Regions from separate parts of the Homo sapiens genome. Here all the other regions are linked to region 5. The links are contacts of gene promoters, found by promoter capture Hi-C in blood cells and fetal thymus (Javierre and others, 2016). All regions are on one chromosome and are shown on one strand. The core of a region is centred on a gene start or on the middle of the fragment in contact, and the rest is flanking DNA. Distances in the headings are between cores, read along the strand shown.

Evidence for each region. Contacts are between HindIII fragments. The CHiCAGO score rates a contact against its expected background, and 5 or more counts as called.
Region 1: a fragment that was not itself captured here is called in contact with the fragment with the promoter of SUDS3 in region 5 in 3 of 17 cell types (naive CD8 T cells, total CD8 T cells and naive CD4 T cells); the score reaches 7.9 in naive CD8 T cells.
Region 2: a fragment that was not itself captured here is called in contact with the fragment with the promoter of SUDS3 in region 5 in 1 of 17 cell types (total CD8 T cells); the score reaches 5.3 in total CD8 T cells.
Region 3: a contact is called between the fragment with the promoter of FBXO21 here and the fragment with the promoter of SUDS3 in region 5, in 6 of 17 cell types (naive CD4 T cells, non-activated CD4 T cells, total CD8 T cells and 3 more). The highest score is 8.5, in naive CD4 T cells.
Region 4: a fragment that was not itself captured here is called in contact with the fragment with the promoter of SUDS3 in region 5 in 1 of 17 cell types (endothelial precursors); the score reaches 6.7 in endothelial precursors.
Region 6: a contact is called between a fragment that was not itself captured here and the fragment with the promoter of SUDS3 in region 5, in 2 of 17 cell types (total B cells and naive B cells). The highest score is 10.3, in total B cells.

What each region holds. Positions count from the first base shown.
Region 1 is chr12:119,545,548-119,550,594 of GRCh38, reverse strand. The region is part of intron 2 of PRKAB1-AS1 (PRKAB1, TMEM233 and CCDC60 antisense RNA 1); the gene reads left to right. Among named protein-coding and RNA genes, the nearest start is that of TMEM233, 46 kb to the left of the region's middle. The HindIII fragment of the contact is 7,127 bases long and covers 1-5,005 here.
Region 2 is chr12:119,653,766-119,658,580 of GRCh38, reverse strand. All of the region lies in intron 1 of PRKAB1-AS1 (PRKAB1, TMEM233 and CCDC60 antisense RNA 1), which reads left to right. It also overlaps a transcript of TMEM233 not described here. Among named protein-coding and RNA genes, the nearest start is that of PRKAB1-AS1, 12 kb to the left of the region's middle. The HindIII fragment of the contact is 4,114 bases long and covers 1-3,913 here.
Region 3 is chr12:117,188,242-117,193,138 of GRCh38, reverse strand. It overlaps FBXO21 (F-box protein 21), which reads left to right and starts at 2,669. Exons shown (of 12, transcript NM_015002.3): 1 at 2,669-2,921; 2 at 3,777-3,912. The coding sequence starts at 2,683. RefSeq lists silencers at 2,453-2,512, 2,553-2,652, 2,933-2,982 and an enhancer at 3,453-3,542. The HindIII fragment of the contact is 6,345 bases long and covers 1-3,941 here.
Region 4 is chr12:119,416,607-119,421,519 of GRCh38, reverse strand. All of the region lies in intron 1 of CCDC60 (coiled-coil domain containing 60), which reads right to left. The region is part of intron 2 of PRKAB1-AS1 (PRKAB1, TMEM233 and CCDC60 antisense RNA 1); the gene reads left to right. Among named protein-coding and RNA genes, the nearest start is that of CCDC60, 84 kb to the right of the region's middle. The HindIII fragment of the contact is 650 bases long and covers 1,851-2,500 here.
Region 5 is chr12:118,375,276-118,379,971 of GRCh38, reverse strand. It overlaps SUDS3 (SIN3A corepressor complex component SDS3), which reads right to left and starts at 3,417. Exons shown (of 12, transcript NM_022491.3): 1 at 3,139-3,417. The coding sequence starts at 3,280. It overlaps LOC124903031 (a long non-coding RNA gene), which reads left to right and starts at 3,845. Exons shown (of 2, transcript XR_007063480.1): 1 at 3,845-4,016; 2 at 4,181-4,674. RefSeq lists silencers at 3,021-3,170, 3,201-3,420 and an enhancer at 2,862-3,362. The HindIII fragment of the contact is 4,103 bases long and covers 155-4,257 here.
Region 6 is chr12:119,680,128-119,684,792 of GRCh38, reverse strand. All of the region lies in intron 1 of LOC124903033 (a long non-coding RNA gene), which reads left to right. It overlaps PRKAB1 (protein kinase AMP-activated non-catalytic subunit beta 1), which reads right to left. Exons shown (of 7, transcript NM_006253.5): 7 at 3,174-4,545. The coding sequence ends at 4,468. Among named protein-coding and RNA genes, the nearest start is that of PRKAB1, 14 kb to the right of the region's middle. RefSeq lists enhancers at 2,432-2,561, 2,732-2,791, 4,387-4,665. The HindIII fragment of the contact is 854 bases long and covers 1,386-2,239 here.

The DNA of each region.
Region 1 (5,047 bases), core at 193-2,692, 1.2 Mb before region 5:
GGCTTTCAGCCTCTTCCTCCCTCAGCCCATCAGAGATCTCCTTTGGGGTCTCCTCCTGAACCCTACTGTCCCCTATTCCAAGCCCTTCTTTCTTTTCCTCCCAAAGCTAGTGACTTTGGAAGAGTCCACCCCTCTGTGTCTCAGTTTCTTCATTGGTAAATGTAGGATGTGGATTGGTTTCAACTCAGCTGTTACTTCTTCCAGTAAGCCTTCTCTAGAGGACACTTTTGTTTTTTTATGAGTAGCTTCTCAGTCCTTTTCCTTTTCTTGGGGAACTTTCACTCTATGAGATTAATATTTCTCCTATTATGAAAGTCAAACAATCCAGATACTTGCTTTCTCAGCTTTTTTTGTCAACTAGGATATGATCATGTGACTTAGGCTTTGCGATCGGATTTTTATGTTTTCAGAGGCAGTAATGTAAAGACTCAGAGTTAAATTAGCCAGAATCAGATTCTATTGCTTGCATATAAAGACTTTGGCTGATGTACCTTTTTTGACTTGCCAGACTCCGGTGGTGGCTTTCTGTGTGCTCCATCTTTCTCTGCCATTGTTGTCATAGCTGAGTTGTATTGAGTCTTTACTGTAAGCTGGATGCTTTACACAGCCTATTTCACTGAATTTTTTTTTTTTTGAGATGGAGTCTCACTCTGTCAAACAGGCTGGAGTGCAGTGGCGTGATCTCGGCTCACTACAACCTCTGTCTCCCGGGTTCAAGCGATTCTTCTGCCTCAGCCTCCAGAGTAGCTGGGATAACAGGTGCCTGCCACCACTCCTGGCTAATTTTTATATTTTTAGTAGAGAGGAGTTTCCCCATGTTGGCCAGGCTGGTGGTCTCGAACTCCTGACCTCAAGTGATCTGCCCACCTTGGCCTCCCATAGTGTTGGGATTACAGGCGTGAGCCACCAAGACTGGCCCAGGCTATCTCATTGACTCTTTAGTGGTGTTCTCATTTTACAGATGAGATATATAGAAGTGAAGATACCTCTCAAGGTCATACAGCCAATGACAACACAACTAGGATCTGAACTTTCTCAGTCTGACACCTGAACATTCTGTTTTAACCATCACAGTATAACACCACTATTTAACCTTTGGAGGACACAGGCTCTCTTTATACCTCTGGCGTCTCTCAAATAGCCTGGAGCATGGTAGGTGCTCAATGATATGCAAGCTCAGGTTGATGACAAGGTCTCACCTGGCGCAAACATTCTATGAGTTTCCTACCTCCACCTGTCAAACTGCAGCCCTTCTTCTTTCAGTCCCCTTCTCCCACTTGTTACCTCCAGGACTTACCATCTAATCAATATACACTATTCTTCACCTCCTTCCCACCCCTGTTCCCGTGAACACCTTAAAATGATTGTTGAAAATCTTCCCCCGTCACCAGTTTTTCATTTTCACCCCTGTTCCTAGATTATTTTGACTTTGGGGATGAAGATGTCTCTGCCTTGTGAAGGGCTTTGTACTGTGTCATATGTTCTCTGCCTTACCCCCAGCTCCTTAGTGACCCCTGAGTTTCACATCTTTGGGAAGGTTTTAGCAGAGTTAATGTTGCCATTTGCAAGGCACACTGCAGCCTTTTTGTGGAGTTCCAAGTATAACAAATCTGGGTTCTCTTTGGCATGATGACATCTTGCTTGAAAGAGTCAAAGGCTTTCTCTGAGATTTGCAGACGAGGGAGCTATCATTCAAACAGCTATCAAAAGAGCAGATGTTAGTTAAGGGCGAGGCGTGAGAATGATATTGTTATTGGTTTATGCAACTGAGTATTTTCAGCTTCAAGTAGCAGAAAACCCAGACTCAGCTGCTTTGGGCAATGAAGGTTGTATCAACTCACTTCAAAATGTTCCAGCCAAGGTGATTCTCTTGAATCTGCCCCTTGTTGGCAGCAAGGTGCCTGCACAATTTAGTGAAGACACGATAAGTTCCGGGAAAGGACTGTTTTCCTCTGTGCTCTGTGTTTTTTTTTTTTTTTTTTTTTTGAGATAGAGTCTTGTTCTGTCACCCACGCTGAAGTGCAATGGCGTGATCTCGGCTCACTGCAACCTCCGCCTCCCGGGTTCAAGTGATTCTCCTGCCTCAGCCTCCTGAGTAGCTGGGATTACAGGTGCCCACCACACCCAGCTAATTTTTGTATTTTTAGTAGCGATGGGGTTTCACCAGGTTGGCTGGGCTGGTCTCGAACTTCTGACCTCAGGTGATCCACCTGCCTTGGCCTCCCTAAGTGCTGGGATTAAGTGATTGCATGAGCCATTGTGCCCGGCCTCCTCTGTGTTTGTTTTAAGAAGAAACAAACCTTTCTCAGGAGCTTCCCCTTGCAAACCTGGGGTAACATGACCACCTATAAATTAACCCTAGCATGGGGAATGGAATTGCCAATATAGATTTAGACCAATCAAAATTTATCCTGATTCACATGGGAAGGGGTAGACACTTGAACAAAATCAGGACTCCTAGCAAAAGAAGAATGGGAAATGGCTGTTGAATAGCATCCGTGGTGATAGATATAATCCCAAAAGGCAAGCGGGAGAGACTTTTCATCAGAACATTAAAAGTGAATTGGGACAAAGGATGGGGGTATTTCTGGCTTAAGTCATGTGATGGAAGGGACTAGCTCTGTGATGTGTAATAGAAAACCTGCCCCAAGCTCTGAAAGTAGACTTTTTACTTTTAAAAGTCTAAGGTCAAAGGAATGCCTCAGCTCTATTCTCGCCAACCTGTTGGGTCATTGAGGGAACTGTTTGTGCTGGCCTTAGGACACTGAGCTGTGAGCTTATTTTTTATACTATCAGGCTCCACCTTTGCCAGGATGGGCAGTCTCACATCTAAGCCAGCCTCCTGGACATCTTTATTTCCTAGAAGGCAGTGGGGATCTGAGGAATCCTGATGAGTCTAACCCTGATGATGGCTTCTTTTAGTTTCTCTCAGTCATCCGTCCGTCCATCCATCCATCCATCCATCCATCTATCCATCCATGCACTCAAGTATTCATCCATTTATCCACTCAACTGTTCATCCATCCATGCATCCATCCATCCATGCATCCATCCATCCATCCATCCATCCATGCATCCATGCATCCATGCATCCATCCATCCATCCATCCATCCATCCATCCATCCATCCATCCATTCAGTTGATGCCAGAAATGTTATGAGAAATTCTGGGAATACAATAACAAATAAAGCAGATGTAGTCCTTGCCCTCATGAAGGCTAAATCTAGTTGGGAAGACAGATAATAAGTAAACAAACATAAAAAAATTCAGAGCTATTTTGAGACTAGGCCAGAAAGGAATTTGTGCCCTCTCCACTTTTCACTAGTGTGGTTCCTTTGCCCCAGGGTAGTGTGGTGGAGAAAGCTACAGAGTTAAATAGCCAGACCCAAATCTCAAATTACTTGGTGTGTCATGTCTTCAAAATGTGGGTGAGATTTGCTTTGCACATCTCAGAGGATTGCTTTGAAGATCACATGGTGCTAATGGATGTGAACACCCTTCAAAAATGTAAATGGTTTCTAAATTTTATTATCACTAAAGCTCGAGCTCTGATTCCCCCCAAAAGATGACCAATTTGAACCCCAAGACAAGATCCTTTAAGTAGAGAGGCAGTGTAATGTGGTTAAAGCAATATTGCAAAATTTCAAGACGACCACGATTTGAACTCTTGATTAATTGCTTGAAGGCGTGTGACTTGGGCAAGCCACTTCACCTCCTTTAGCTTCAATTTTCTGTCATCTGTAAATGTGAATAAGCATAATAATGCTAGCTTCACAGGATAATTACAAGGAATCAACCAGCAAATGCATATGAATTACATAGTGCCTAGCATAAGGCACTTAGAAAATTTTCATGTTTATTAAATTCTTACTCTACATTATCTTTATCTGACTTCCCCTGGCTACCTCCAGATCCCAAAACAGGGAAGGACACTCAACCTCAGCCATGCAGGTGAAGCTCAGGGACTGAAATGAGCAGTATTGGGTAAAGAGGAAGTGATGCAGGTGTTGTTTTAACATTAGCTTGGGCTTTTATTTTGATATCATTCTTTACAATTGGTCATAGCTTTTGGTCCAGTTCCTCCCTTACCTGCAAACCTTTAAATGAAATGCCAAGGCAGGGTGGTGACAAGAGTCTGGGTATTGGTTTTAATGCACTGGTGTGAACCTTCAGCCTCTTTCCTCCTTCATATAAAGTAGGAAGATAGGAAGTGAAATGACCACCAACATAGCAAATTAATGCAGAAGTTTGTATACGAAGCTCACTATGTCTGTTAAAAAGAAAAAAGGTTACCTACCCCAATTATGTAGCTTTGGGCAGGTTTCCCAACTTTCCTCCACAACACCAGTTTCCTCCACAACAAAGTGGGGGTCAGAGTGATATCTACCTCATGAAACTGTGGTGAGGATAAACTATAATTGAATGCGAAGCACTTAGAACAATGCGTGGTATACAGTAAGCACGCAATGAATGCTTCATTTTAGTTAATTAATTAAAAATGTTTTGCTTATACATGTGAAGAATATCCCTGGAAAGTAATACAAGTTACTGGATACAGTGTGAGTGCCTCTGTAAACCGGAATGGGGGTCTGAGAGTTGGAGGGGGAGGAATACTCACTACTTAGTGGAGATCCTTTTGCACTGTTAAGATTTTTACCCCATGCATACATTCCTTTTCCACAAAAATGACAAAAACTATTCTGAGTAGTGCCAACCCCCCGTTCATCTACATATTTACCATATTACGTTCACCAGTCCTCCCTGTCTCTGTTTTTTGGGGAAGACTAGAACATTCCTCTTCACTCTTAAATTTATCCTCAAGCGGGATCAGCAAACGATGACTGACGGCCCCAATCTGGTCTATGGTCTCTTTTTGTGTGACCTCTAATTTACAGTTAAAAGTTTAAAGGTGTAAAAAAACAGTTTTCACACCTTTAAAGGACTATATAAATAAAAAGAACATGCAACAGATATTTAATATCCAGTCCTTTACAGAAAAAAGCTTCTCTAGCGCACATATAGTTTAAAAAGCTCTCATGTTAACCA
Region 2 (4,815 bases), core at 607-3,106, 1.3 Mb before region 5:
CAGTGTTTTCGGCACCAGGGACAGGTTTCGTGAAAGACAATTTTTCCATGGACTAGGGTTGGGGGGATGGTTTTGGGATGATTCAAGCACATTATATTTATTGCGTACTTTTCTATTATTATTGCATTGTAATATATAATGAAATAATTACACAGCTCCCCATTATGTAGAAACAGCGGGAGCCCTGAGCTTGTTTTCCTGCAGCTAGATGCTTCCATCTAGGGGTGATGGGAGACAGTGACAGATTATCAGGCATTAGATTCTCATAAGGAGCATGCAACCTAGATCCCTCGCATACGCAGTTCACAATACAGTTTGTGCTCCTGTGAGAATCTAATGCCACCACTGATCTGACAGGAGGCAGAGCTCAGGCAGTAATGTGAGCGATGGGGAGCAGCTGTAAATACAGATGAAGCCTTACTTGCTCACCTACTGCTCACCTCCTGCTGTGCGGCCTGGTTCCTAACGTACCATGGTACTGGTCCGTGGCCTGGCGGTTGGGGACTGCTGCCTTAAGGTACTGAATCTATCATTTCCTTAATGTATTTTTTAAAATGTTGTAGGATATACTGTTCTAGAATGTACCTGGGACTTTGGGTTTATTCATGTATGGTAAGGCCAATGGATCGGAAGACCATTGCCATTAAAAATATAGTTTTATTGCTCACAGTTCCTGATATGCTTTGGCTGTGTCCCCACACAAATCTCATCTTGAAGTGTAGGTCCCATAATTCCCACGTGTCGTGGGAGGAATTTGGCGGGGGCGGTCATTGAATCATGGAGCCGATTACCTCTATGCTCTTCTCCTGATAGTGAGTGAGTTCTTATGAGATCTGATGGTTTTATAAGGGGCTTTTCCCCCTTTGCTTGGCACTTCTCTCTCCTGCCTCCTTGTGAAGAAGGATTTGTTTGCTTCTCCTTCTGCCATGATTGTGTTTCCTGGGGCTTCCCAGCCATGGGGAACTGTGAGTCAATTAAACCCCTTTTCTTTATAAATTACCTAGTATCAGGTATTTCTTCACAGCAGTGTGAGAACAGTCTAATACAGTTCCCAAGGGGCAGGAGCCCGCCATGCCATGCAGAACCACAGGAGAGAACTTTGAGGTTGGTCACAGCCAGAGAGGATGAGAAGAAAGCCTAGGAAAAAGCCTTTATTGTGGTTTTTGCCAGGAGGAATGGGCGAGGCAAGGTAAGCAGCTGAACAGGCTTAGGATTGGATAGTCTGAATAATTCAGGCCAGCTGTGGGCTATAGGTGTCGTACCTAACTGTCTGACACCCAACCCTGGGATGATTAGGGCTTAGGATTGGATAGTTTGAATAATTCAGGCCAGCTGTGGGCTATAGGGGGTTGGGGGGGGTAGTCTCTAAATGTCTGACACCTGACCCTGGGATGATTAGGGCTTAGGATTGGATAGTTTGAATAATTCAGGCCAGCTGTGGGCTATAGGGGTAGTCTCTAAATGTCTGATACCTGACCCTGGGATGATTAGGGCTTAGGATTGGATAGTTTGAATAATTCAGGCCAGCTGTGGGCTATAGGGGTAGTCTCTAACTGTCTGATACCTGACCCTGGGATGATTAGGGCAGGGGAAACTTGCCTCTCGGAGTGGAAAAGCCAGAGAGAGGAGGTGGTTCAGAGTATGGGCTCTGAATTGGTTGGACTGCATATTGCAGGAAGGTCATCTGCTATCTCTTGGAATGAGCTAACCCTGGGACAAACAGTCTCTTTCAGGTTGGTAAGTCCCCAAGATGTCAAGCCTCATAAGATATAGAAAATGAAAAATGCGATTAATACATATACATAGCATAAACTTTATTATTTTATCCATGTTAAAGTGTACAGTTCAGTGACATTAAGTACATTTACATTGTTTTGCAGCCATCATCACCATCCATCCACAGTTTTTTCATTTTGCAAAACTGATACTTTATGCCCATTAAACAGTAACTCCTCATTCCATCTTACCCTTGACCCCAGCAAGCACCATTTTACTTTCTGTCTGTATAAATTTTGCTGCTGCAAGTATCTCAGATGTATGGAATCAAACAGTATTTGTGCTTCTGTAACTGGCTTATTTCACTTAGCATAATGTCTTTGAGTTTCATCTATGCTGTAGCATGTATCAGAATTTCCTTCCTTTTTAAGGCTGAATCATATTTTGTATGTATACACCACAGCTTGTTTATCCATTCATCTATTGATGGACAGTTGGGTTGCTTCTACCTTTTGGCTATTGTGAATAATGCTTCTAAGAAAACAGGTGTACAAATATTTCTTCATGTCCCTTTGAGTTGTTTTGGGTATACAGAAATGGAATTGCCAGATCCTATGGTAATTCTATTTTTAATTTTTGGGGAATTGCCATACTGTTTTTCATAGCCGCTGTACCATTTCCCACTAACAGTACACAAGAGTTCCAGTTTCTCCACATCCTCCTATATTTTCTTCAGAAATTATATCATTTTAGGTTTTACATTTAGCTCTATGATCTATTTTGAATCAATTTTTATGTATGGTGTGAACTATGGGTTGAAGTTCATCTGTGGGCACATGGATGTCCAATTATTCCAGCATCATTTGTTGAAAACACTATTCTTTCTCCATTGGATGACCTTTGCACCTTTGCCAAAAATCAATTTACAGCCAGGTGCCGTGGCTTATGCCTGTAATCCCAGCACTTTGGGAGGTCGAGGTGGGAGGATTGCTTGAGCCAAGGAGTTTGAGACCAGCCCTGAGCAACATAGTGAGACCCCATCTCTACAAAAAGTAAAAAAATTAGCTGGACATGGTGGCATGCACCTGTGGCCCCAGCTACTTGTGGGGCTGAGGCAGGAGGATCATGTGAGCCCAGGTGGTTGAGGCTTCAGTGAGCCATGATCGCATTGCACTCTAGCTGGGAGACAGAGAGACACCCTGTCTCAAAAAAAAAAAAAAAAATCAATTGGCTTAGTCTAGTGGTGGCTCACACTTGTTGTCCCAGCTACCTTAGAGGCTGAGGTGGGAGCATCACTTGAGGCCAGGAGTTCAGACCAGCCTGGGCAACATAGGGAGGCTCTGTCTCAAAACAAACAAACAAACAAACAACCAAAAAACAATCTATTGACTTAATCTAGTGGTGGCTCATACTTGTTATCCCAGCTACCTGAGAGGCTGAGGTGGGAGGATCACTTGAGGCCAGGAGTTCAGACCAGCCTGGGCAACACAGGGAGACTGTCTCAAAACAAAACAAAACAGGCCTGGCGCGGTGGCTCACCTGTAATCCCAGCACTTTGGGAGGCCGAGGCGGGTGGATCATGAGGTCAGGAGATCGAGACCATCCTGGCTAACAAGGTGAAACCCCGTCTCTACTAAAAATACAAAAAATTAGCCGGGCGCGGTGGCGGGCGCCTGTAGTCCCAGCTACTCGGGAGGCTGAGGCAGGAGAATGGCGTGAACCCGGGAAGCGGAGCTTGCAGTGAGCCATTGCGCCACTGCAGTCCGCAGTCCAGCCTGGGCGACAGAGCGAGACTCCGTCTCAAAAAAACAACAACAACAAAAAAACAAAAAAACAAACAAAACAAAACAAAAACAATTAACCATATATGTGTGGGTCTATTTGTGAAGTTTCTATTTTGTTCCATTGATCTATGTGTCTGTCTTATCAATACCACACTGTCTTTTTTTTTTTTTTTTTTTTTTTTTTTGAGACAGCGTCTCGCTTTGTCACCCATGCTGGAGTGCAGTGCATGATCATAGTTCACTGTAACCTTGAACTCCTGGGCTCAAGCCTCCTAAGTGGCTAAGACTATATTCATGTACCACTATGTCTGGCTAATTAAAGAAAATTGTAGAGATGGAGTCTTGCTATGTTGTCTAGGCTGGTCTTAAACTCCTGGCCTCATATAATCCTCCCACCTCAGCCTCCTAAAGCTTACAGGTGTGAGCCACTGTGCCCAGCTTCACACTGTCTCAATTACTGTAATTTTATGGCAAGTCTTCACATCAGGCAATGTAACTTCTCCAACTTTGCTTTTCTTTGTCAATATTGTTTCAGCAATTCCAGTTCTTTTGCCTTTCTATATAAATTTTAGACCCCACTTGTCAGTTTCTACAAAAAGTCTTGCTGAGATTTTGATTAGACCATAGATTTATGGTCTTTAATATTTATTCACAAATTTAATATTCCTACTACTTTTCATTTTTTTTCCTTTAAATACTAATTCCCATCTGGTTTCATTTCCCTGTAGGCCAAAGGACTTCCTTTAGCATTTCTTGTAATGCAGATCTGCTGGCAACAAAGTCTCTAAGTTTTTAACTAAAAATATCTTTATTTTGCTTTCATTGTTGAAGAATATTTTCACTAGAGCTTGACACCTTTTTTCTTTCAGCATTTTAAAGTTGTCATTCTACTCTATTCTGTATTTAATTGTTTCTGATGAGAATCAAGTCTTGATGCCAAGACCTGAAAAAAAAGAGAAGTCAATTATCATTTTTACCTTTGTTTCCATGTACGTGATGTATCATTTTTCCCTCTGGCTGCCTTTTAGATTTTTTCTTTTTCCAGTAATTTGCCTAGGTGTGTTTTCCTTTGCATTTATCCTGATTGGGTTTTTGTTTTTTTTTTTTTTAGCTTCTTGGATATGTAGGTTGATATTTTTAATACCATTTGGAAACATTTAAATCAATTTTTCTTAAGCAAACTTTTTAAATGCTCCATTCTTTCTCTCCTTTTATTTTTAGGACTCTAATTACATATATGGTAGAATGCTTGATACTTCTCTGCAAATCACTGAAGCTCTGCTTATTTTTTTCTTTAAATCTTTTTTCTTGCTGC
Region 3 (4,897 bases), core at 1,420-3,919, 1.2 Mb after region 5:
TGGCATGCTCCTGTAATCCCAGCTACTCGGGAGGCTGAGGCGGAAGAATCTCTTGAACCCAGGAGGCCAAAGTTGCAGGGAGCCGAGATCGTGCCATTGCACTCCAGCGTGGGCAACAGAGTGAGACTCTGCCTCAAAAAACAAACAAACAAACCAAAAAACCCATATCCATTGAGCCATTTCTCCCTGCTTCCCACACAGTTTTGTCAAGCAATTTTTTTTTCGTTTCGTTTTTTCTGAGACAGCATCTTGTTCTGTCACCCAGGCTGGAGTGCAAAGGCATGATCTCGGCTCACTGCAACCTCCACCTCCCTGGTTCAAGCGATTCTTCTGCCTCAATCTCGCAAGTAGCTGGGATTACAGGCACCTGGCATCATGCCCGGCTAGTTTTTGCATTTTTGTAGAGATGGGGTTTCACCATGTTGGTCAGGCTGGTCTCGAACTCCTGACCTCAGGTGATCTGCCTGCCTTGGCCTCCCAAGGTGCTGGGATTACAGGTGTGAGCTACCGCATCCGGCTCAAGGATTTTTTCTATACCAGCCACTGTTCTATGCCCCTCACATGAATTTCCTCATTTAATTCTCATGACAGCCCCAGGAGACAGGCATTATTATTATTAATTATTATTCCCATTTTACAGATAAAAAACTGGGCCTCAGAAAGGCTAAGTAACTTCCCTAGTCAAACAGCTGGTTAGACTATCGCAATCAATAGATAATTGAGAATCTGCTCTGTGCAGGGCATGGGTCAAGTAACTAGGCTTCTAGAGGTGACTCAGACACAGTCCTAGCACTGAACTCCCTTCAGATTTAGTGGGAAAGATGCATGTTGAATAGTTGTAAGTTAAGTAATTACAAGACTGCAAAATGCTGGGCAGGAGCCATATCTGGTGCTGGTGCTGGGGCGGGGGAAGGGAGAGCATTTGGAAAGGTTAAGCTGAGCCCTGGAGGAAGAGGAGGAGCTACTGGAAGGGGAGGACTGCATGAAGTGCCTTGCAGGCAGCAGGAATAGTATATGTAGGGCCAGAAATGGGAGGAAAGAGATGACCAGCCTTGCTGGGGTATGCATGGCTAGTGAGAGAGAAAGACTTCAGATAGGTAAGAAGAGGTGGAGTTTGTTGCTTTGCAACAATGTTTGGGATGTCACATTCATTTCTACGGGAAATAGGGAGCCACAGATGGCTCAACGCCATCCATTGAGAGTCACTTTACTAGTTCAGCTCTCTCAGGGCATCTTGATTTCCAAGTTGCCAGGAGTACTTCATTGGACCCTCCATGTACTGACAACAGATCCTTCTAACTGTAATTGCACTTTGAGGTTTTGAAGCAAAGACTCCATTTTTCTCACCCCTGTATCCCCAGGGCACACAACACAGGGCTTTGGCACTGAACTAAACTGATTTTTTTTTTTTAATGTGCAGATCCTGAGACTACCCTCCCAATCCTGAGTGATAACTCCCGCTTTGAAGACTCAAATCCAGGCTTTAGCACTTTTGTCTCTGTAACTTTGAACCAGTGACTGCCACCTGGAAGAACTTTGCCTTTTCTGTAGAATAGGTATAACTGTGGTACCTATTGTGGGAGGTCAGACTATGCTCCCCAAATATGAAGGATTGTTGAGCTGGAAACAATTAAGAAACCAGTACAGGAGAGCTCTCTGCCTGCCCTCTATTAGCCTAAAATCAGGGCACACATTTGAGGATTATTATTACTCCCCTACACCATCATAGAGGGCTTCCCATAGCACCCACTCAAGAATATTGTTATTATTACATCATATGGTTAAGATTACTGACAAGCAAAAGTCAAGTGGATCTGAAATAGAATCCAAGACAAGGGGCTGGGCGCGGTGGCTCACGCCTGTAATCCCAGCACTTTGGGAGGCCGAGGTGGGTGGATCATTTGAGGTCAGGAGTTCGAGACCAGCCTGACCAACATGGTGAAACCCTGTCTCTACTAAAAATACAAAAATTAGCTGGCTGTGGTGGCGGGCGCCTGTAATCCCAGCTACTCGGGAGGCTGACGCAGGATAATTGCTTGAACCAGGGAGGTGGAAGTTGCAGTGAGCCGAGATCACGGCCACTGCACTCCAACCTGGGTGGTGGCGCGCGCCTGTAATCCCATCCGCACGGGAGGCTGAGGCAGGAGAATCGCTTGAACCCAGGAGGCAGAGGTTGCAGTGAGCCGAGATAGCGCCACTGCCCTCCAGCCTGGGTGAGAGCAAGACTCCTTCCCAAAGGGGGAAAAAAAATCCAAGACAAGGGATCCTGAGCAAGCCCTCTCACTCTCCGAACCTGTTTCCCCATCTGTAATATGGGGAGAAAGTTCGCAGGGTAATTCGGAAAGGTCCAATGCGCACAGAAAGCGCTCAGCACGCGTGAGAATAGATACCATTTTTATTTGTTAATTTTAAACATTAATTACGTTTAAAAGAATCAGTGCTACTATTGTTGTCCCGGACTAGAGGCGGCTTGCGCTGCCGGCTCCAAGCACAGAGCCCAATTATGTCCTCCCTTTTGCGGCGCTGCCACCCGCGCAGCCCCCAGCCGATGCAGGGGAGGTGTGGCCCGCGGATGGGCGGAGCGATCTCAGGACTCGCCCCCAAGACCAGTAGGCGGGGCCAGGCGGGGCGCCCGGGCACTCTCGCACGCGCGCGCGCGGCGGCCCCAGGTACGCGGACAAGATGGCGGCGGCAGCAGTCGACAGCGCGATGGAGGTGGTGCCGGCGCTGGCGGAGGAGGCCGCGCCGGAGGTAGCGGGCCTCAGCTGCCTCGTCAACCTGCCGGGTGAGGTGCTGGAGTACATCCTGTGCTGCGGCTCGCTGACGGCCGCCGACATCGGCCGTGTCTCCAGCACCTGCCGGCGGCTGCGCGAGCTGTGCCAGAGCAGCGGGAAGGTGTGGAAGGAGCAGTTCCGGGTGAGGTGAGCCAGCGGCCCCGCGCCCCGGCTGCGCGCCCACCGCCCCGCGCCCCCCGGGGCCGGGCAGCCGCCCCGCTAGCTCCCCGCGGCCGCCCCGCGCGCGGACCCCACCCCGGACCCCTTCCCGCGGACAGACAGACAAAGGCCTCCAGGCCCCGGACCCTGCGGGGCCACGCCAGGCGGACCCCCGGGTCCCCAAATGGCGCATCTAGGAGCGCCTCGCAGCCGGGTCCTCCGTCAAGGGTGACGCTGGCGGCGGCGCGGCTCGTCCCTTTTGCGCGCTTCTTTTGTGCCCGACTTCGGGCTGAAATGTTTACATGGACCCAGTGATGCATCGATCGGGCGGGCGCAGCATCCCCGGGCTGGTTGTGGACGGCACAGATTTCAGCGTGGCCCCAGGATGAAATCTGGCCCTGCACACTCCCTCTGTGACCTTGGGGGGAGCGACTTCCCTTTTTTTGAGCCTCGTTCATAGACTTTGAGTGGTGGTGATCATTAGACCTACCTTTCACCGTGTTTATTAAATTAGATGATGTCCGGGAGGCACGCACGCAGGGCCCCGGCTCCTAGGAGGCGCTCAATCAGTGCTCACTGTCATTGTCATTATTATTATTGTTGTTGTTGTTACAACTGTCCCCATTTTAGAGATGGGGAATGGAGACATCATTCATGCCGCTACGCCAAGGTCACACCGGGAGTGAGTGAGTGAATGCTGGTGGGGTTTTGAACTAGGTCTCTCGCCGGGGTCCCTCTTACCACTGGACGCCACTGCTGTCCCTGTTTCCAAGGCTGCCTTGGATTCGTGGCCGCCTGCCTTTGAGTTTCTGTTAAGCTGAGGGGGTGTTTCTCTCCTCGTAGGTGGCCTTCCCTTATGAAACACTACAGCCCCACCGACTACGTCAATTGGTTGGAAGAGTATAAAGTTCGGCAAAAAGCTGGGTTAGAAGCGCGGAAGATTGTAGCCTCGTTCTCAAAGAGGTTCTTTTCAGAGCACGTAAGGATCTGTTGATGTGGCTCTAAGCTTTGGCTTGCTGGTGTATGTGTCTGGGTCTGCAGGCATGAGCTCATCCAGCTCTTTTCGTATCTCCCTTTTCAATGCTCTCACAATCCCTTACTCACTTAGATGGCTGCAAGAGTCATTGTGTCCTTTTCCTCCTATCCAACAACACGAAGCCATTTGTCTGTGCCAGCTTTACTTTTCTAAAGCCAGAGAGAGAGTGGGGGTGGAGGGAGCAGGGAGGGACCCACGCAGCACAATGTAGACGGAGTCCAGATCAGCATTATTTCTCAAATGGGTTCAACGGATTTTTTTTGCAACCCCTCCGTTATTTGGGGAATCATCAATGATTGAACACTGTAAATTTCTCCCGGTTGTTTTCCCAGAAGGGTTGACGAAATTAATGTGGTTCTTCTCTCTGGCTTTGCAGGTTCTACCCAGTAGTGAACTGCATTATTTGTTAAGGTAACAGAGGATTAAAAGCTACCTATAAATCAGAGTTATTACTCCCTGAAATGAATTGTCTTGCATTCATTATCCCTGAAAAGTTTTTGGGTTTTTTTTTTTTTTTAAGTATTGCAGAAATACATGGTGGGTTTTTTTTGTTTTGTTTTGTTTTGTTTTCTTTTTTTCTTTCCTCAAAATGTCTCATGGAAGTTTCTTTCTTTTTTCTTTTTTTGAGACAGAGTCTTGCTTTGTCTCCCCGGCTGGAGTGCAGTGGCGCAATCTCAGCTCACTGCAACCTCCTACTCCTGGGCTCGAGCAATTCTCATGTCTCAGCCTCCCGAGTAGCCGGGACTACAGGCATGCGCCACCATACCTGGATAATTTTTGTATTTTTAGTAGAGTTGGGGTTTCACCATGTTGGTCAGGCTGGTCTTGAACACCTGGTCTCAAGTGATCCGCCGGCCTCTGCAAACCAAAGTGTTGGGATTACAGGCGTGAGCCACCGTGCCTGGCCTCACGGAAGTTTCTGTATCTG
Region 4 (4,913 bases), core at 926-3,425, 1.0 Mb before region 5:
GGCTTAAAAAGGTGAAACTGACTTGCTATTAAGTGGCAAAGCCTGGATTTGAACTCATGGTCAAGTGACATTGACGACTGTGTTCTTATTCACTACTCCATTCTGCACCCCCATCCCACTTTGCCCTATTTTGCATAGTGGGAACTACCTGAGGGGTAGCGGTTGCTAGCTATTGATTTACAGATACTACCTCCAAAACTCTTCCACTGAATTTTGTTAGATTTCATCATAAAGAATTTAATATGGCAGAAAATCAGAATGATTTGTTGGAGGTCATGGCCGGAAAGCCAATTTTCTAAATATCTGTTGTTCTCTGTGTTTTATGAAAGAATGTTCTGAACTCATCTTTGTTATTCCTTAAAACATGATCTACTTCCTAGAATAAGATGAAGATGGAAGTGAATTCCTGTTAAATGTGCCCGGGCTGATACAGACATCAGGGAAACAGCTGGGATGCTCCGTCGAGGGGTGAGCGGGGAAGGGAGGCTGAAAAGACAGCACTGAGAAGCGAGCTTGCTGATTAACAAATTTCAGACTCATTATGGAGAAGCTGTAAAGAACAGAGTAGGCGGGATCATGGCAGGAGTACACACATGAACCCGGAGACCTTAGCTTGCACACGGATGTTTAAGTTTTTGGTGGTTTTAATATTTTATTTTTTATTTTTGTGGGTACATAATAAGTGCATATATTTACGGAATACATGAGTTGTTTTGATACAGGCATGTAATGTGAAATAAGCACATCATGGAGAATGGGGCATCTATCCCCTCAAGCATTTATCCTTTGAGTTACAAACAATCCAATTATACTCTTAGTCATTTAAAAAGTGAGTTATTATTGACTATAGTCAACCTGTTGTGCTATCAAATAGCAGGTCTTATTCATTCTTTCTATTTTTTTGGTACCCGTTAGCCATTCCCACCTTCTGCCCCCCATCCCCCACTATCCTTCCCAGCCTCTAATAACCATCCTTCTACTACCTATGTCCATTAGTTCAATTGTTTTGATTTGTAGATCCCACAAATAAGTGAGAACATGTGATGTTTGTCTTTCTGTGTCTGGCTTGTTTCACTTAACACACTTAACATAATGATCTCCAGTTCCATCCATGTTGTTGCAAATAACTGGATCTCACTCTTTTTTTTGTAGCTGAATAATACTCCATTTTGGTGGTTTTATGGTGTTGATAGGCAGTTCCTTTTGGGGAGAGTGAGGTATTTTTTTTGTCATAAGAATGTAAGATGTGTACCTACCCACATAGAGATACCCAGAATTAGTGACCTCATCCACACACAGATCCTTCAAACTGAAATAGGAAATATACTATAGAATTACTTAACAGGCCGGGCATGGTGGCTTATACCTGTAATCTCAGCACTTTGGGAGGCCGAGGCGGGTGGATCACGAGGTCAGGAGTTCGAGACCATCCCGGCTAACACGGTGAAACCCTATCTCTACTAAAAATACAAAAAATTACCCAGGTGTGGTGGTGGGTGCCTGTAGTCCCAGCTACTCGGGAGGCTGAGGCAGGAGAATGGCGTGAACCCAGGAGGCGGAGGTTGCAGTGAGCCGAGATCGTGCCACTGCACTCCAGCCTGGGGCGACAGAGCGAGACTCTGTCTCCAAAAAAAAAAAAAAAAAAAAAAAGAATTATTTAACATCTCTCCTTGTTGAAGACAGGTTGCATCTTTTATAGGAAATTTTGATTGTCAGGGAGAGGTGGTAGAAGGAGAGACTGTCATCTGGGGAGACGAGCAAGTCCTCTACTGAGAACTTAGGGGAGACAAAGCAGCAGGAGTCCTCTGGGAAGAAGAGGAGAAGGAACAATGATCCCTGGGAAGGAAGCTTCTGATACTCAGCACATGGTACAGGGCCTGGCTCTGCATTCTTTCTGTCATTGCTGAATGAATGAGAAGATGAATGCATCACAGTCTCAAGGTTTAACCCCACAGGTTAATGATTCGTTACAAAGGAAACGAGATACCCATATAACGGTGAGGTCTGGCGGACACCACTTTAACCATCATGGCTATGCTTAGCATCACCAATGACAGGACAAACTCTTATCAGGTGAACCTGAAGTGATGCACTGGGAAGGGCACAGCATCGCCTACATGGTTACATCACCTACATACATGTCCTGCCCCAGAGGTCCAATCTGAATCTAATCATGAGAAAGCAATCAGAAAAATAAAAAGTGAAGGTCATTTTACAAAATAGGTGATCTGGACTCTTAAAAGATGTCAATGTCTGTGTCTGTTGGGGCCTCTGGGAAGCAGACACGGAGAAAGGACTACAAAATGCTCATTGCGGGTAAGCCCATGAAAGAGAAAAGGAGGAGGAAGTGGGATTTGGCAGGGGAGCCCTAGACCATGATGCAGATCTGACAGAGTCCAGCCAATGCAACAGGGAGATCCAGAGCAAAGATTGCTTGATTGAGCCCAAGCACAAGGCAGAAATGGCCAGTGCCCACTGATGGGGAATTTCTGGGGAAGCTTCTGACTTCCGCTGCATGAAAGCTGCTGTGGATGCTGGCGGTGTCAACAGCTGGAGAGTCTCAGCTACCTGTGCCGCCTGCTGGCAAGTTCTTTCTTGGAGAGAAGTCCAAGGGATACACCTCTTTGTATTCTAACAATGTCATAAAAGAGGAAGAAGGCAGAAGATCTGTTTCTCTAGGACACCAAGGGGACACAACAACTAAATGAAATGCATGGTCCCTTGATTGAATGCTGGACTGGAGACAAGGCTATAAAGGGCATGACTGGGATAACTAGGGACATCTGCACATGAACTTTATGTTAGATAACAGCATTGGGGCTCACGCCTGTAATCCCAGCACTTTGGGAGGTTGAGGTGGGTGGATCACCTGAGGTCAGGAGTTGGAGACCAGCCTGACCAACATGGTGAAATCCTGTCTCTATTGAAAATACAAAAATTAGCTGGGCGTGGTGGCGTGCACCTGTAGTCCCAGCTACTCAGGAGGCTGAGGCAGGAGAATCACTTGACCCCAGGAGGCAGAGGCTGCAGTGAACTGAGATTGCGCCACTGCACTCCAGCCTGGGGAACAGAGTGAGACCCCATCTCAAAAAAAAAAAAAAAAAAAAAAAAAAAAAAAAAAAAAAAAAAAAAAGAAAGAAAGAAAAGGAAAAAGAAAGAAAAAGATAATAGCACTGGGTTAATGTGAAATTTCTGTGTTAACTGTATTGTGACTATGAAGGAGAATGTCCTTCGGTAATACATGCTGAAGTGTTTAGGTGTGAAGTGTCTGTAACTGACTTTCAAGAGGCTCAGCTTAAAAAATTGTAAATATACACACATATTATATATATAGTACATACATACATATATACACACATGTATGCATACATACATACATATGAAAAATATGGAAACATGTTAAAAACATGACAAAAAGATAACATTGTGAATTTAAGTTAAGGGTATTTGACTGCCTGTTGTACTATTTTTGCAAACTTTCTGTAGGTTTGGAATCTTCTACAATCTTTTACAAGTTAGGGAAAAAATATGAAGTGACTGAAACCCCAGTTTCAGGTTTTCCTTTGCTGCAGTTAATTTGCTTGGGTCTTCCGTAAATGTCAGTGAAGCAGGACTGCCTTATGGAAGCCGTGCTTTGGGAATAAAGGAAGGGTCTGGGCTTCTTGCTGACATTCAGGGTGGGAGCTTGGATGAAGTTGGGAAACAAAGGTAGGACCCATGCCCCTGAGGCTGGAGAAATTGTGGCCCAGCAGAACCTACAAGTCACCACCTGTCATAGTTTTTTGGTTGATTTGTTTGTTTTGGCTAAGTGTTGAGGCCCTGGCTATGTCAGTACCTCTTCTTGAGGACTTAATTAAGGTCACACCTTAACCACTTCCTTTACTGGGCTCTCTGGGGCCACTATGCACCTGCTCAGGACCAGGTACTAGTTAAATAACTAGGGGGACAGAGCCTGATTGTATCTAATAGAGCAGAAGTAACTCCATAAAAGGAAATTGGGTGCTCTGGGAAGGAGGATTGTATGCCTGCCTGTCAGCCAAAAGCCAATAAAAGAGATAAAGTAAGAGAAAAAGGAAAAAGGGGGGTAGAAAGAAAAATCTTGCTGATGTATTCCAAAAAGTAAAGATAAACCATTTCCTCCTCCAGGCAACATCCCAGGCTGGTTAACAAGATCTCTCTTCCTCAGGATGACTGAAGTTTGGGACCAAATCGCTATTTGTTGTGGGGGATTTTCTTGTACATCATACAATGTAGCATCTCTCCTGCAAGTTACAACAATAAAAATGTCTCCAGACATTGCCAAGTGTCCTCTGGGAAGCAGAATCACCCTCAATTGAGAACACTACTGAGTTAAACTTTGATGAGGGGAGGGGTGGGAATGTTCTTTTTTTCTTTTTTTTAGACAGAGTTTCGCTCTTGTTGCCCAGGCTGGAGTGCAATGGCGCGATCTTGGCTCACTGCAACTTCTGCCTCCAGGTTTAAGCAATTCTCCTGCCTCAGCCTCCCAAGTAGCTAGGATTACAGGCATGTGCCACCATGCCCGAATAATTTTGTATTTTTTTGTATAGATGGGGTTTCACCATGTTGGTCAGGCTGGTCTCAAACTCCTGGCCTCAGGTGATCTGCCCATCTCAGCCTCCCAAAGTGCTGGGATTACAGGCATGAGCCACGTCGACCGGCCGGGAATCTCTTTATAAAGACTCCATTCTAAATCCTGGCCCAACCCTTGATTTGTGGGGAAATTTTTGAAAAAACTCAGGGCACCTGAAAGAAAAAGATAACCAGCAAAATAAGCATTCTATTTAATGCCATGCAATTTATCTGTTCTTCAGTCCTGCTTCAGGCTGGAGCCCTCTTCCCACCTATAGAGTTGTTTTGAAGTAAAAAAAAATCTATTGAGCTGTGTGAGGAAA
Region 5 (4,696 bases), core at 2,168-4,667:
TGGACACAAAAGGCCAATGCAAAGAATTTGAGTATCCTCAGGTTGTAGTATCCATGAAGTCCTGGAACCAGTCCCCCATAGATACCGAGGGACAGCCGTACTTCAGAAAAGAAAAGGCCATTTCCAACTTACAGTCAGATTTATGCAAAAAGCTTGCCTTTACCTGAAATGCAGCCACAGAATAGGGTGTCTCAGGCACAGGCAGTTATGGTGAAGGCTGCTACTTCTGCAGAAACAACAATGCTGGCAACTCAAGAAAGGAGATGCAGGCGTAAGACTGGACACTGCAGGCAGTCAAGCCTTACTCGCTGCTCCAGAAAAAAACTAGTATGTACATTCTCTTCTGATACATACCCAGTTGGAACCCTTCGCACATTTTACATCAGGATACACGGTTGTCCCTCAGTATCCGTGGGGGAGTGGTTACTGCACCTCCCGTGGATACCAAAATCCTCAGCTGCTCAAGTCTCTGACAAAATGGCATAGTATTTGCATATAACCTACGCACATCTTCCAGTATACTTTTCTTTTTAATGAGACACAGTCTCACTCTGTCGCCCAGGCTGGAGTGCAGTGGCACAATCTCGGCTCACTGCAACCTCCACCTCCTGGGTTCAAGCGATTCTCCTGCCTCAGCTTCCCAAATAGCTGGGATTACAGGGGTGCACCACCACACCCGGCTACTTTTTGTATTTTTAGTAGAGATGAGGTTTCGCCACGTTGGCCAGGCTGGTCTCGAACTCCTGGCCTCAAGTGAACCACCTGCTTTCGCATTCCAAAGTGCTGGGATTACAGGCATGAGCCACTGCACCAGGCCAACAGTACACTTTAAATCATCTCTAGATTACTTAGAATATCCAGGCCAGGCATGGCAGCTCATGTCTGTAATCCCAGCACTTTGGAAGGCCAAAGCAGGAGAATCACCTGAGGACAGGAGTTCCAGACCAGCCTGGCCAACGTGGTGAAACCCCATCTCTACTAAAAACACAAAAATTAGGGCCAGGTGCAGTGGCTCACGCCTGTAATCCCAGCACTTTGGGAGGCAAAGGCAGGTGGATCACCTGAGGTCGGGAGTTCGAGACCAGCCTGACCAGCATGGAGAAACCACGTCTCTACTAAAAATACAAAATTAGCTGGGGGTGGCGGCACATGCCTGTAATCCCAGCTACTCAGGAGGCTGAGGCAGGAGAATTGCTTGAACTCGGGAGGCAGAGGTTGTGGTGAGCCGAGATCGCGCCATTGCACTCCACCCTGGGCAACAAGAGTGAAACTCCATCTCAAAAAAAAATAAAATAAACAAAACAACAAATAAAACCACAAAAATTAGCCAGGCATGGTGGCAGGTGCCAGTAATCCCAACTACTCCGGAGACTGAGGCAGGAGAACTGCTTGAACCCAGGAGATGGAAGTTGCAGTGAGCTGAGATCGTGACACTGCACACCAGCCTGGGTGAGTGAGTGAGACCCCATCTTAAAAAAAAAAAAAAAAAGATTACTTACAATATCCAATAAAATGTAAATACTATGTAAGTAGTTGTTACGCTACACTGTTTAGGAATAACAAAAAAAAAGTCTGCACATGTTCAGTACAGATCCAATTTTTTTCCTGAATATTTTTGAGCTGCGCTTGGTTGAATTCACAGATGCAGAACCCACAGATACGCAGAGCCAACTGTATACAATAAAAAAGGGGAATCTGACACAAATAAATATTTTCCAAGTTACAACTAAAGGGAACAAGGAGGAGGCCAGATGATCAAACGAAAACTGTTTCAGAACATCTTAAACATTGTTCTTAGAACAAGCTAATGGCTGGGGTGTGTACAAAATTTTAATAGCCCCTATACTGGAAGGAAAAAAAAACTCAATTTTGGCTCCACAGCGCCCCCTCGTGGGTATGAGATGAAGTGCAAGTGCTTCACATTCAAAATCTCTGGTTAAGCCGTGTCTTCTGATGGAATTAAATCGAATGCAGTCCCTCAACTTTGTATGTCATGCATATGCAGCTGTCTTTTGTAAGGCTGTTGCAGATCCAATTCCCCACAAACCCTTCTCCCCTCCTTCAGTCAAGAGGCCTTCCCTGAGTTCCTGTCATGGTCAGCCACATTACTTGGCACTCGGGAAACTCAGATGAATAAAACGTAGGCCCCATTCCAAACAGCTGGTCTAGCTTTTGCTCCACGGCCCGATTTTGTCCCAGAATATTCCGCTCATATATCGGTCTCTCTTTGTTTCCTATTTCTCCTCCCTTGATCTCTCACATTTCATCACCTTCCTCCTCCTCCATCCCTCCAAAATAGCGTTCCTCACACTTGCCAAATTATAAAGCCCAGTTTGAAAAGCAAGGCTCTGAGACTCTGTGATGACAGTGCAAAGAGCGTGGGACTGAAAACACAACACCTGGGGACCATTAAGCAAATCTCTCCCTCTCTTACCTGTTTCCGGGAGGGGGGCGGGTGGGGAGAACATTTACGGAGTATTTACAGTACCAGGCCAAGTACTTTATGCGCATGTCATTTAATCCCTATACCGACCCTAGGAAGTGCCTTCTAGGGCAGGTGTGGGAATTAAACAGCTCCATTACAGTTGGGTAAATCGAGGCTGGAAAACTTAAGTTTACAAAGCTGAGTTAAGTGACAAAGCCAAATTTAAACCTGTATCTGGCTGGTTCTAGGTCCCTTTCCTTTAACCAACCTGAGTTCTCAATAGTGTACTACCTAAAGTATAGATGACTTATGCATTTCGGGGGTGGGGAGGGGCAACTTTGGACTCTGATGCTCTCACACACAAAAAAGGGGCGAACTACACTCGATGTATTCAGTAAATGAGTTTCTAATTCCTACTAGTGAGTGAGGTTCAATCAGAAACGGCTGGGAGGGAGGACGGGGTCTTAAAGGGACCCCCAGCGTGACAACATCTAAGTCCCCTCTCCCCATCACGGTCGAGTGTAACGCACCCAGGGCTTCCCCGCTACTCCAGCACGGATGGGGGTAACTTCCCCGAGCCCCGCAACTCCCGGCGGCCCCTCCACGCAGCCCCAGGCCCCGGAGGCCGCCCCGCCCCTCTCCCGAACAGCCCCACCCCCTCCCCCAGCGGTCCCACCTCCGCTCCGGGCGGCCGGGCGAGCGGCAGGACTCACCTTCGTCCGACTCGCGGCCCCGACAGCTGCGCTCGTCGTCCTCGGCGCTCTCCAGCTCTTCATCCTCCTCGGGGTAGTACTCGGGGGCCGGCGGCGCTCCAGCCTGGGCCGGGGCCGGGGCCAGCAGCCCCGCGGCACTCATGTCGCCTCTGACCGCAGCTGAGCGTGGCCCACGGACACCGCGGCCACCCGCGCTCGGTACTCGCCGTCTGCCTAGCAGTGTCCGCGGCAGCCCCCAACTCGAGGACCGGCAGCCACGGCGACCCCTTCCCCGTCTCCGCCGAGCTCCGCCCCCCGCGCCCGCGCTCGGCAACGGGGGCCTCGCGCCGCGAGCGACTTCCGGGTCGAGAGCTGCCCGACAACGGCCTGATTCCGCCATCCTTGGGGGAGTGGAGATGCCGCTGGACGCCCCCGTCGCCACAACCTCAGCCCTTTCATCGCCGTCTTAAAATCCTCAACGTATAGTGGGGGAGGGGCGGAGCCAGGTTCGCTAGAGTCAGGCAAATCTACGGGCAGGCCCAGCAGCGGTCAGGACCCCGAGGCTCGCAGGCGACTTCCGGAGACAGCCGCCAGGCGGCGCCTGGAGCTAGAACTAAAGCGGTGATCGTTAGCGACCTAGGGGCGGAGGGTTTGAAGGGCCCTTGGCAGGTGGAGGTGGTCTCTAATTTAAGCAGGGAACGACGCGACCTGCCCCCTTATTAGGTCGGAAAACCTAGACGTCCAGAGTGTGCGTGATCATGCAGCCTGGCTCCTCCTGTGACTAGTTAGAGCTTTATTAAGAGCTAAAAGACAAGGATGCTGATATTCCATCCTGGGGACAGCAAAATAGTATTTTCCCAGCCCTTAGGAATCCTTTCTGTTTGTGTAAGGTTTATTCGGTAAGATGTTCCCCCGGTTTTACAAATGAGAAACGAGCTGTCGTTTGCCTAAAAAAAAATAGTAACGTCCAGTCTGATTTTTTAGACTCCGAGACCCAGGCCCTCCGCGGTACAGCTGCCTTGAATATTAATTTTTTAAAAGGTGCTTTTGCTTAATCCAACAGCTTGCTCTGAGCTCTCAACTGAAGAAGGGGAGAATTTGCCTACCAGAAGTTATTTGGCTAAGGCCCACGTGGAAGCTTAAAAAACAGGAGAGCTGAGTATCTGCAAGAATTAATTTGTGCGATTCCCTCTGAGTAGAAAAGGAACACGGTGTTATAAGTTTTGCTGAACGAATAGATTTAAGGTGTCCCTTTAGCTAAGAGCAATGTGGTCTAGTTGTGTGTAGCGAGAAAAAAGGGTAAGGTTTTTAATGGTTTGTCCAAAGTAGCCCCACTTTTATGTTCCACCCGAGTCTCCGTAGGAAACGCAACCAGTAGTGAAAATGAACAGATGTGAAAACCAGGGTGGAACCGAATATTCCCATTCTCAGACCTTTTGTGATTAAATTTATCTCTGAATTGTTCCCTATGGACTCTTCTGAAAATGAAACGTTATTCTCATCCCACTTATTTTGACATTTATTTACTACCTTGTTTTAATTAAAATCTTGGCTCTATTTGTAAGTGATTTTTTCTCCC
Region 6 (4,665 bases), core at 563-3,062, 1.3 Mb before region 5:
TAAGGAATAGCCCGAAAGAAACAACCAACCAATTCCACAGCCACACCGTAAAATGAGGCCTAACTCTTCATGCTGGCCACTCCTGTTTCATAAGCACAAAATTAGATGTCATGTTTTCTGCGCTTACAACTTAATTGTCACCGGACTAAAGAGGTTGATTGCATAGCAAATTCCATAACCATGGAACTTTAGGATTTGGAGGGTTAGGCCAAAAGAGAATTTGCTTAATAGGACTGTCTTCAGAATTGGACCTCTTGAATGTGATTTGCTATAGAAAGCATTCGTGGGGGCCAGCTCAGATTCCATTCTCAGAATACAGTGGTTACACTGGCTTGTTCCACTGGTTCTAAGCCATGGGGAGATTTTGCTTCCCTCCTCCCAGAGGACATTTGACAATGTCTGGAGACATTTTTGGTTGTCACAACTCGGGAGTACTACTGGTATCCAATGGGTGGAGGTCAGAGATGCTGCTCAACATCCTACAAGGCAAAGGACAGCCCCCCACTGTAAAGCATTATCTGGCCCAAAGCCTCAATAGTGCCAAGGTTGAGAAACCGTGGTCTGTTCTAGTTTTAGTCCCATGTCTTCCTTGGCAATTTAAATACTGCTAATGATGTCTAAAGCATGTAGACCGTGGCTCTAGGCCTACAGTGTTAAATGAGAAAAATAGTTTCTTATTTGCCCACTCAAATGCTGAAGCTGTTTCCTGAAGCTGGGGAGGGTGGGGGTAGTGGAAATAGAGTCCAGTGTTGATCACTTTGTTTTCCCTTGAGTCTGTTAATGATGAACGGAACTCTATTTGCCCTAGAGAGATTGTTAGAGGTAGATGAAAGAACCTTGAAAATGACTTTATTACTCTGCATAAGTCAGGCTGTCTTTCAGAGAGCCACAAAAAAGGAAACAAAAAATCGACCAAGGGTATACACATCTTGGCCTGTTCTCACTGGCCACTGAGTATTTCAGATGGGATGGGTGAATTCTTTTAGGGGGAGGTAGCAGTAAGAGCTGGCATCCTCATCTGGGGAAAGGCTCTTTAGTTGTATGAAAGACAAGACGACAATGTAGTTGTGGGAGCCCACCCTGAGGGCAGAGCCTGGTGGCTCGTTCTAGAGCCAGTGGCTGGGGTCCCAGAGACGGGGCTCCGGCTGCTGCTCCAGCTTTTGGGATCTTCTCCAAATGTCTGACTCACTATAGTGACGATGACTCTTAGGAGGATCCTGTGGATGTTTTTACAATTAATAGGGATGACTGGGGTTTTAGAAGAAATGTATACGTATCTACAACTTCCATGTTTTCTCCTGAAGACAATTATAGTTGGCATACCAGGGCAGAAGGCTCTAGTTTGTTTCTCCACTAATTTGCTGGCCAAGATGAGTGCTGAAGCTTTTATTCCTCAGAAACTTTATGATTTGATGAGTGGTCCATGTCTTGGGTCTTCATCAATTCATTCAAACCATTTGTAAACATTGGTGGATGTCTTAGCCCATTTAGTGCTGCTTTAACAAAATACCTGAGAATGGGTAATTTATAAAGAACAAAAATTCATTCTCTCACAGTTCTGGAGGCTGGGAAGTCCAAGATTAAGGCATGGGCAGGTTTGCTTGTCTAGTGAGGGCTACTCTCTGCTTCCCAGATGGCGCCTTGTGCTTGGGTCCTCTGCAGGGGAGAAAAGCTGTGTGTCCTCACATGGCAGAAGGTGCCAGGGCACATGAGCTGAATGCTGCCTGAAGCCTCTTTGATAAGAACCTCAATTTCATTCATGAGAGGAGGGGCTCTCATGACCTAATCTCTTCTTAAAGGCCCTACCTCTTAATACTATCACATTGGGGACATTTGAATTTTGAAGGTGACACAATAGCAGAGGAGGATCAGATATGGGAAGTAAATGCTTGAAAGTGAAACTGTGCTCATACAAAAGGAACTGAATTAAAATGAAATTTTGTTCTTTCCTAGACTGGCTCGTTCAGTCTCTGACCTCAGCCACAGATCGTATCATGATGTTCCAGGTTTTTTCTCTCAGTCTTTTAGGAGCCTTGGAGATTTCCTAATTGAGCTAGCTGAGGTGCAGGCACAATTTTCTTGTCTGGCCTTTTGACTTCCTGTTTGTGGCCTTAGCCCTGCAATACTGATTTACATTTTAGTAATTTTTTAGGCTTTAATTTGGCTCTATAAATTCATCTGTATATCAGCTTCTAGAGGGAAAAATGTATCTTCATTGAAAAGCAATTTGAGTTAAGCTTTAACTAAGTCCTCACCCATAAAGGAAATGCTAATGAAGAAAGGATTACTTGGTCATAGGACACGATTTGACATATGGCTTTGCCCCTGTGATTTGGGCAAAACAAGGTCTCCTTTTCCACCTTTGTAAAATCACCATTAACCTTTAGCTTCTTGGGTATGGAGGCTTTCACTTGGTGGGCAGGCTTTCCGACTATAATGTGCTTTTTAAAGAAAATGAAATCCTTTGAATACGCACAGAGATGTGTTGTCTCTGACCATGTCCTCTTGTTTTGTGTCTCCTCCATCATCTCAGCAGTGACCTCACCTGGAAGTCCCCTGTGGCCCCAGGGCTTGGAGAACTCATGGGGTGACTGGCTCCAGTAAACCAGTCTTATTTTACATAGCATTTTCAGCTTGGGTTTTCTGCACCAGTGGGTAGAGCTCATTAGCATGCTTTTCTGCTAAATTTAAAATGTTTCCTGATACCTGAGAAGGCTTAAAGGAACACCCATAACCTTCCACCTTTTTGGAGGAGGGACACGGCCTCTTTTAGTGGATGAAAACAGCTCTGACTCCACAACGTCCTGCTCTCTCACACGCCAGGGTCACGATCCCAGGCTGTCCCACCGGGCTTGTTTAGGAGCAAAAGGAAACAAACCCTCTGGCCTGGGGACACCAACAACTGGCCGAAGCCAGGAGCCTCTGCTGTTACCCCTCTTCAGCTTCCCCTTGTGACTTGAGCTGTTCAGAGGGGCTCAGTTTTAGGGGTCCCTTAAGGTTCCAAACTGTGTGAATGGGTGTGAGTCACAGGACTGGTTCTCAGGCCTGGGCAGCTGGAGTAGCCCTGTCCGCTCAGAGCCACAAGAACGGTACTGAAACGCAACTCTCGAAGAGTTCCAGTCTCTTCTCCAAGGGACTGAATAAAATCAGAGCTCCTCCAGGCACATGTCCAATTATTTTTACAAAGTTTTATTGAAACTTGTCCATCAAGGTGACAGTAATTCACTGTTTTGAAAAGTCACAAAAAAGGGTACCCCCAAACTCAGGTATACCAAGTAAATACTGGAACCCAGGGAGCTCACTCCTCCCTCTCCCACCAGGAGCAAAGGGCATAACGGGAGCTTCCGCTGACTCACAGCAACCTGGGCTAGTGGGTACATCTGTGGCGACTCCCGGGAAACTGAGCTGCGTATAAAGAAGTCTGCTTTGGTCCAAAGGACATCTTCCTGACCCAGACTCAGAAGGCTGCTGTCAAGTTCTACATTCCTTTCAGAATAAGCAACAGCAACTGCTGCAGTCTTGCTAACTAGGGGCAGAGGTCCTGAGCAAGGTGCCACGGGACCTTGTAAAATCACGCTGTGTGATTTTATAGGGAAGAGGGCAGAGTGCCTCTCAAGTTTTCACGGTTAACACTGTCACCTATTATGACTGGAATAAAAAGCTGGACAACCTGCCAGCTAACTGGTCAGTCCTGAGGATCATCCAGCTGAATGGAGAAATCCGGCAGCAGGTTGAAAAGTCTGTTCTGAGAACAGATTATTGCTGAGCAGAGTTCATGTGACTTCTAGACGTGGTGACTTAAAAAATGGCCTTAAGGCTGCAGAGCCAGCCACCTCTGCTTACAAAAAGAGTACTTAGTGCACATGACTGTAAGAAACAATTGTAAAACCTCATCTAGAAATCAGAAAGCTTCTAATTTCTATAGAAATGACACCTCCCTGGAGCCGAGAGACAATCTGTTGTTGATTTTGAAGGACAGGCAAGACCAACACTGTATTTAGTTCCATAGCCAGGCCTCAACAGGGACAAGTGGCTGGCCTTAAAAACACACAGATGACTGGAAATGATGTGTGGCCTCAGTCCCTGTTTCCCAGAATTTTACTGGCAAAGGAGTTAGCATTCATTTTTGGCTTAAGAAAAATCGAGAATGTAGGTTTAGAACTGCACCCAGCCTCATGCACCGCGGGGCCAGGGCTGCAGATCCTCTGCCACCCCTCCCTCTTTTCTTGGACTTGATGAGTCCCCGAGGCTCAAAGCCATGGGGGTGCTAGGAGGACTGTCACAGACCGAGGCGCTGCAGGAGCTGCTCTGCCTGGACAAACCTTCAAGCAGGACCAGGGCAGGTATGAAATGTCTTCTGAAGAGTGTGAAATGAGCAATGTACAGTCCATTCCCTCTTGGGGAAAGCATGCACGTGTGGAGCCTGGTGGTGTGCTGTCTCCTGGGCCACCATCCGCCCCCAGCTCTTCATATGGGCTTGTATAACAAGGTGGTGACGTACTTCTTCTTGTACCGGTGGGTTGCGCTGAGCACCATCACTCCATCCTAAGGAACAAGGTGGAAATGATCAAAGGCTGGACTAAGGGGCTCAAGCCTCAGAGGACATGAGAATCATTAAGGGCTTCATAAAACCACAAATTCCCGGGCCAGCTTCAGAACCTGAGC